Regions from separate parts of the Homo sapiens genome. Here region 1 is linked to region 2. Evidence: promoter capture Hi-C in 16 types of primary human blood cells and fetal thymus (Javierre and others, 2016). All regions are on one chromosome and are shown on one strand. Each heading gives the region's core, a stretch centred on a gene start or on the middle of the fragment in contact. The rest is flanking DNA. Distances are from core to core; before and after follow the strand shown.

What was found. The method cuts DNA at HindIII sites, captures the fragments that hold promoters and counts their contacts. A CHiCAGO score of 5 or more calls a contact.
Region 1: a contact is called between a fragment that was not itself captured here and the fragment with the promoter of MAP10 in region 2, in 2 of 17 cell types (naive CD8 T cells and naive CD4 T cells). The highest score is 5.9, in naive CD8 T cells.

Annotation. Positions count from the first base shown.
Region 1 is chr1:231,862,588-231,866,825 of GRCh38, forward strand. The region is part of intron 9 of DISC1 (DISC1 scaffold protein); the gene reads left to right. The region is part of intron 12 of TSNAX-DISC1 (TSNAX-DISC1 readthrough (NMD candidate)); the gene reads left to right. Among named protein-coding and RNA genes, the nearest start is that of DISC2, 46 kb to the left of the region's middle. The HindIII fragment of the contact is 4,730 bases long and covers 1-4,238 here.
Region 2 is chr1:232,802,812-232,807,006 of GRCh38, forward strand. It overlaps MAP10 (microtubule associated protein 10), which reads left to right and starts at 2,605. Exons shown (of 1, transcript NM_019090.3): 1 at 2,605-4,195. The coding sequence starts at 2,639. RefSeq lists enhancers at 2,400-2,997, 2,709-2,788, 2,998-3,594. The HindIII fragment of the contact is 4,755 bases long and covers 1,042-4,195 here.

The sequences.
Region 1 (4,238 bases), core at 669-3,168, 940 kb before region 2:
CCCTTAGTTAATGTTATAGAATCAGAACTAGAAAGACCTCTTCATTCTTCACTTAGAGAGGATTTAAGTGTCTCTGGCCATTTATTGGGTTAATAATGGTGACTTCAGGTGACCCAGGAAACATCTGGATATCTTTGCTGCACTTGGAAAGACATTTAGTTTGGTAATATTTTCAAATCATGTGATCATTTCAAAATGACTTGCACCATGGAGTGATGATGTGATGCTGGCAGCAGCTGCTGTTTGCTGGAGATTTCGTGTGTCAGGCACAGTTGGGAATACTTTATGAATATTAGTTTATTTCTCACCTTGAAGGTAGACATTGTTCTCAGTTTGTTGAAATCGAGGCTCATGTAAGTAAAAAATGCCCACATTCATAGCAAATAAGTGACAGAGTTAGTCTCTGACTCTGCAAAGGACTTATATGGCTTTTGTATAATAAAGTCGGTCACCCCATTTTGGTAATAAAAGGGATAATAAAAGACCAACATGTCTTCATTAGCTTGCAGATAAGCTCCAAGTTTCAGCACGTGCATAGTTTGTAATGCCTTCACAGGGTCTGCAGGCTCATTGCCATGAAAATATAGAACTAACAAGAATTTAGTTTTGATTGACATAGTTTATAAAATGTTCTTTTTTTTTTTTTTTTTTTTTTTTTTTTTTTTGAGACAGGGTCTCTGTCGCCCGGGATGGAGTGCTGTGGTGCGATCTTGGCTCACTGCGGTCTCTGCCTCCCAGGTTTAAGCAATTTTCCCACCTCAGCCTCCACAGTTGCTGGGACTGCAGGTACCCGCCACCATGCCTGGCTAATTTTTGTACTTTTAGTAGAGAAGGGGTTTCACCATGTTGGCCAGGCTGGTCTTGAACTCCTGGCCTCAAGCAATTTCCTTGCCTTGGCCTCCCAAAGTGCTGGGATTACATGCGTGAGCCACCGCGCCTGGCCTAAAACATTCTTTTAACAAAAGCATAGCTTTATGTTGAATTCAGGTAGATTCGAACCATTGCTTTTAATAACACAATATGGGTTCTTTCAGACTCTTGGGGTAGATTGAACTTCTCATAAAACTGTCATGGGACAGATTGCAACTTCTTTCCAATATCAGAATCTCTAGGTGAGTTCATCCATTTCTTTGCCCTGGGCTTTTTAAGAAAGTAGGGCAATGAGTCCCTGGTTTCTCATCTCCGTAAGAATGAAAGGATGCTGGAGCCAAGGTCTAGTCTACTGCCAGTTTCTCCAGGAACAATGTGGAGGAAAAGGACCAGTGTAGATCAGAAGTCCATGAGCGGAAACTCAGAATCAAAGCGGTTATTCAATTCTTCTTTTCTTGGAGGAAATCACTGTGTCGCCTGAAGAGAAAAATGCCCTTTGCTCTTGCACTGGGGAGTTCTGTTTAGTGCCTTTCCACACAAAAGGGCTGTACTGGCTGGTACTATAGACTTTTTTTATGAAGATCTTTTTCATAAATCCTTTTGCAGAGTATAGCCAGGTAGCAGTATATGAACATTGGAAGTGAAACAGTTTTCGTCACACAAAATTAACAATAAAAACACATGCAACTCATCATTTATAAAACGATACTTGCAATTTTTCATTATTCTCATTTCTGAGGGCAAATTTTCAGATGAAAACAGAAAGGAATTTTAGAAGTTTTCATTTTTTTTTCCTACATCAGGCTTCCCTATATGTCGTCTGTATAACAAGCACCTTGATCTTTCATTCAGTTATAAGAGGCTCATAAGCGTTGCCTCTGTTTTCTATATATTGGTAGTGTCATTAGAAAACCTGAGGGGGTGGGCCGGGCGCAGTGGCTCACGCCTGTAATCCCAGCACTTTGGGAGGCCGAGGTGGGCAGATCACGAGGTCAGGAGATTGAGACCATCCTGGCTAACACAGTGAAACCCCGTCTCTATTAAAAATACAAAAAATTAGCTGGGTGTGGTGGTGGGCGCCTGTAATCCCAGCTACGCAGGACGCTGAGGCAGGAGAATGACATGAACCCGGGAGGCAGAGCTTGCAGTGAGCCAAGATCGCACCACTGCACTCCAGCCTGGGTGACAGGGAGACTCGTCTCAAAAACAAAATAAAACAACAACAACAACAAAAAAATCTGAGGAGGTGGACACCATTTTTTGGTACTGAACGACGTGATGACCGTTTAAAAAGAAAGGTAGATGTTAAGAAGGCTTCCTTATACAAAAATTCTTGTATATTGTTCCTTCCAATTTTATTTTTGTTTTGATATATAAAATCCTATGTTAAATCTCTCATCCTGAATATCAGATTACTCCAGAAGGAGAAAGTAGCAGTCTAATTATTTTATTTGGTTGCATGGTAGTCTTAGTACAATTAAATCTCCTTTGAAAGTTTCTCAGTTATGTAGTTATGAATAGCACTCCACACCACGGCTGTGGTAGACCTGGAGCGGTATTGGGCCCAGGTCACAGAATGATCACGGAAGGACTTTAGAGATCACCTATTGAGTCCCTGTTTTAGAGAGGAGCAAGCAAAGGCCCAGAGAACTCACTCCATTTGCCGAGGTCCGACAAGTGTGTAGGTGAGCTGGAGCCAGAACCCTGTCTTTCGGTCTTCACTCTAGAGCTCTTTCCAAACAAACATGCTGACCTGGGAGTCTGACAATTGCTGTATGCTGATGTTTCCTATTTGAAGTCCACATGTCTTTGCAGGGGAAGAGAACTGTCTAGTATCATTCGTTAATGCCCACTCTTCATGTTTGCCAAAGACCACCAATACATTGGGCAGTGATTGTGTTACACTGGTTTGTTTATATGTCGGCTTTCAGTGATGCCAGAAAATCAAAAGGAGGTTAAGAAATCCCAGAGGTTCACCCAGGATGGGAGGCTAAACCTTTGTTGTATTATGAGTCTTAATTCAAGATAACATAATCTTTAGCCTAATAAACATTAGGTTGAATTTTGAAAATGTAAACACTAACTGATCTGTAGACTGACGTCTATTTCCTTGGCAATATTGGCCACACCCATTAAATAATAACTTCTCATTCTCCCTTCCCCCAGCCTCTGGCAACCTCTGTTATACTTTCTGTCTCTGAATTTGACTACTTTAGGTGCCTCATATAAGTGGAATCACATGACATTTGTCCTTTTGTGATACGATATTTTCTTTAAAAAGAAAATGAACAGAAACAGTACATGAGAGAAGTCAGGTCTGCAGCCAGTGTGCCTCTTAGTTCCATATTCATACAAGGCCCTCTTGGAAGCTCAGCTTTGGAGTTGGATATTATCTCAGAAGATATGGCAGCTTAGGAATCTGGTACTCTAAAAACAGATTTACAAGCATTAGACTTTTTTGTATATGTGTGTGGTCATTTTAGTCTTCCTGAAAGTGGTTAAGACCAATATTTCTAGGCAGACTATAGTTCACATCATCCAGTTCTGTAAGTCTTGGATTATCGATCTCATTGTCATGGCAAAAAAGGACAGGGATTACTCAACTCATTACTCCTGTGTCCAGACCTCTGAGCCTGGTGTGTGTGTGTGGCTCAGTGCCTTTCCCATAGTGGCCCACATCCCCCCAGGGCCCTGCATGAAGTTCCTGCAAGTCTACCCCCTGCACGTGCAGAGCAAAAAGAGCTTCCTATGGGAGCTGTTCTCCAGAAAAGACAGAAACCCGGGCCCTAGAGAACCAGAAGATTTAAATTCCAGTTTCAGCTCTGCCATTGACTAATTAGGCAACTGTAGGCAGTTCACTTTGCTCCTTTGGACCAGAGATTTCTCATCTACAAAATGAAAAACTTGGATTTAATTATCTCTGAAGTCACTTCAAGCAGAAATGTAACAATTCTTTGATTTATTAAAAAAAATAACATCAATGATAATGACCAACAGCTAACACTTATTACAAGGCTCCAGGCACTTTCGAAGTCCTTAATATTTAATGTTCACTACTACCTTAGGATATAAGTACTGTGATGCAGAGTCCTGGACACAGAGAAGTCAGCAACTTGCCTGAGGACAGCCTGCAGGACACAGCACTGTGATTTGAACCCAGAGAGTCTGACTTCAGCCCCCAGCGCTCAACTACTATTAATTGAAAGGGCATTGAAGAGACATGATGTCACAATAAAAAGAAAAAAAGAAAAGAAAGCATGTCTTCGACTTTCTAGTCGTCGTGCTTTGTATGGATTCTTCTTTCAACCTTGACGAAAGGGTATAATTAATCTGTAATTAAAGTCATGATAGTTTCTTAATACGAGGAA
Region 2 (4,195 bases), core at 1,355-3,854:
AGGTCACAGAACCAGGATTTGAGCCAGGTAGTTTGCTTCCAGAACCCAGGCGCTCAGCTACTGCACTGTGCTACTTCTCCATGTGTGGTGTAGAAACATGGGGAAAATATTTGTCATGGCAAAATTTTATTTGTTACTTTTGGCATTATTTACAAGTATAAAATATTATTCATACATTATAATACCAGTCATGTAGAGTAGCTGGGTAGAGAAGTTATTATCATTGCAGAAACTACATATTGCAGAAATAATGTCTTTATAGAAGAGGGACTTCGCTTTTTCTATTCATATGTAAGAGACATACAAGTGCTACTAGTGCACACTATTAACTTTACTCAAAAGGCTAACTACAGGATATCTTCTAAGAGGAATTTTGTCTACTGTATTTCTCTGGCGCACATGGACTCAATACCTCATTGCTTTTCACTTGTGATGATGTCTTTTTTTTATTGCTCTACATCATCTATCCATTGAGGATGTTGCTTGATATGTGTCCTCTGCAAGTATATAGCAAGATTCTCAAAGCCAAGAGAAGTATCTTGTAATTTTTTTTTTTTTTTTTAGATGGAGTCTCGCTTTGTCACCAGGCTGGAGTGCAGTGGTGCGATCTCGGCTCACTCACTGCAACCTCCAACTCCCTGGTTCAAGCGATTCTCCTGCCTCAGCCTCCCAAGTACCTGGGATTACAGGCATGCACCACCACACCCAGCTGATTTTTGTATTTTTAGTAGAGACGGGGTTTCATCATGTTGGCCAGGATGGCCTCGATCTCTTGACCTCGTGTTCTGCCTGCCTCGGCCTCCCAAAGTGCTGGGATTACAGGCGTGAGCCACCGCATCTGGTCCGAGAAGTATCTTGTATTTATATATTGCAATGAGACTTCTCTCTCACGTCTTCACACTAAAGCATCATATCCCTCCAGTTCTGAATTTCTCTTGAGCTTCACAATGTTCTTCTGAGCACTGAAGCAATATAATTTAACTATAATTTATAAAGCTGAATAAAGCGGTACATATATAATGCCCAGCAGCAGGTACCTCAAGCTTTACATATCTCAAAACTCAAAGTATTTTTTTCCGTCAAATCTGTGCCTCCTCAATATTTTCACCTTCAGTAGCAGAAGTTTTTCACCCATGACTTTTCTTTCCCATTCACCAAATTTTAAAATTCCTCCATCACAAATGCCTCTTCTGCCACCTCTTTTTAATTTCCACTAGTCCTGACCATGTGCAGGTCATAATTATCTGCCTCTTAGACCACTGCAGTAGTCTTCTAATAGATTGCTCTGAATCCAATTTCTAATTAGTAGAATCCATCCTTTGTATTCCTCCCCATGATACATTTCCAAATATTGCTATGATGTACTTATTCAATCAAAAAAATTTGGACAGAATATAGTCCAAATTCTTTACCATGGCATTCAAGGCTCTCCAAAAACTGGCCTTGGATTCCTAGCTGGCTAGCTCATTGAGGTTAGGAGTATGTTTCTTAAAATATCTGGATAGAGCAGCAAGTTCTGTGTGTCTCTGTAGATGTGTGTATATTTATGTACACACATTTGTTTTATTGATGGAATCATTAACATTACTCTCATGCATCATGATTGCTTAGCTGGAAATGTTGTCAAATAAAAAACAGGGCCAGACAGTAGTTGAAGTGGCAAAAACACTGTAGTCAGGAACTACTGCAATAAGAGAAAAGAGACCTCAATACAGAGCTGGGCTCAATTCCAATTACAGCATGGACAAGTGGGGATTTAAAGCCAAGGGGGCGTCAGGTCAAGTGGATGGAAACTTACTGATAGGGAACATCACGGGTGGGAGGGTTCTGATTAAGCAGGCCTAATAGGATTCTTGCTGAAGCCAGGCCAGGGTGGTCAGATACCAATGATAGAAAATGAAGAATTTGATCAGGTATCGACGGTAATCAGGTATGAAGGGTTGGGGGTTCTCTCTCAACAGCCGTAGCGAGACCTTTGCTACAACTCGGTGATCCAGGGTCCACAGGATTGGAAGCCAAGGTCAAGGCCTAGTCGGAAAGAAGGCTTAGATGAGCCTGACCAAAGTTCAGCCAAGGAGAGTTTTTGCCAGTGTATTCACACTCCGTGTGTGTGTGGTGTGTCTGTCTCAGTACTACTGTAATTGATGAGGCAGGGGCTCCCTGGCCATCCCAGCAGTGTCACCATCTTTTGGGTAGAACAGCAGACACAGAGATGGCCCACTGTGGACAGTTAACTAACTGGCTCTGTTTAGCATGGGAAAGGAAGGAGAGTCCTGATTTTCTTTCAATATTCCTCAGGTATATTGATCTGACCCCCAAGTTACATAAGATCTGCAGTGATAAAACCATTACCCAAAAAACTCACTGTCTTTTACCACTTATATCCTCAGCATTATCATCAATTGTCTTAATACAAGGTTGGTGGCAAAAAACGGCTCACAAGTATGCATACAAAGGGGCCAAACACATTGAGCAGCAAAACCCCCAAAGCAGACACCGCCCGAGACCCGCTGGAGCGCTTCCGCAAATCTCGCGAGATAGCAGGCAGCGATGCCTTTTGCTCCGGTTTCTCGTGAGACCCCGGGGCTTCAGCTTCTCGTTTGCGGAGCCCGCGGCGGCGTTTCCTGGGGCAACAGCAATGGCGGCCTCGCTGTCCGAGCGGCTCTTCTCGCTGGAGCTGCTGGTGGACTGGGTGCGTTTGGAAGCCCGGCTGCTGCCGTCCCCCGCTGCCGCAGTGGAGCAGGAGGAGGAAGAGGAGGAAAAGGAGCAGGGGGAGGCCTCGTCGCCGCGCGGTCTGTGCCCCGCCGTGGCCTTCCGCCTGCTGGACTTCCCCACGCTGTTGGTTTACCCTCCTGACGGCCCCGGCGCTCCCGCCGCCGAACCGTGGCCCGGTGTCATCCGCTTCGGTCGCGGCAAGTCCTGCCTCTTCCGCCTGCAGCCTGCTACCCTGCACTGCCGGCTCCTGCGGACCCCGCTTGCCACCTTGCTGCTGCAGCTGCCCCCTGGGCGCCCGACGCCCACCCCACAGCTCCTGGGGGCCTGCGACATTTCGCTGGCCACCGCAGCGCACAGGGTCGTGGGGCCGGCCGCCTCCGGATGCTCCCACCGTCACCGGGGACGTTTCCCCCTGCATAATCGAGTGGGCGAGCGGACTGGGGACATTGCACTGGCCTACCGCCTGACTGACCTGGGAAGCCGCCTGCTGAGCCAACTTGAGCGGCCCCTCACCTTCACCCGCACAGGAGGAGGAGCGGAGGTCAGTCCCCAAACCCAGCAGGAAAGACAGCAGCTGCAGCAGCCAGCCTCACAGCCAAGCCCAAAAGAGGCTGATAAGCCGCTGGGGGAGTTAGAAATCCCAGAGGCACAGAAGGATTTGAAGGAAATGGTTAAAAGTAAGGCCGAATGTGATAATGTGGGTTCTGTGGAGAATGGCAAAACCAATTCTGTTGTTACATGTTCAGGTGCTGGCAATGGGAGAAATGTTAGCTCCCTAAATGAGGAAGTCACAGAATTGGACATGGAGACCAATATATTTTGCCCTCCTCCTTTGTATTACACTAACTTGACCCAAGAAAAACCGCCCCCTGCACAGGCTAAAATCACCATTGAGCCTCAAATGAATGCACCTGAGGAAATGGATGATGCTTCTCCTGAAAAAAAGCGTGTAAATCCCCCAGCACACAGGAGTTGTCTAAAGCATCCAAGTTCTGCAGCACACGAACATCCTCCAATGCTTGTAAATCCTCCACATATTCAGAATATAGGAGCAACTAATCAAACATGTCAAACTGAACAAAATCGAATTAATACAATAAGGCAGTTGCCTTTGTTAAATGCTTTGTTAGTTGAGTTGTCCTTGTTATATGACCAACCTGTGACAAGTCCTGCTCATATACATCCTCACCTAGCCTGGTTATATAGGACTGAGGATAAGAAGTCACCCGAATCTTCTGCCAAATCCACATGCCGGTCTGAAGCCAAGAAGGATAAGCGTTCTGTGGGGGGATGTGAAAAGTCAGTGAGTCTTCAGTATAAAAAGAACCAAATTGAAAACTATAAGGAAGATAAATATTCTGAAAAGAGCAGTGGTGCCCTCCATAAAAGAGTTCCAAAAGGGAGGCTACTTTATGGCTTAACAAATACACTAAGACTACGTTTAAAGCTGACAAATCCTGATATGTTGGTGGTACATGAA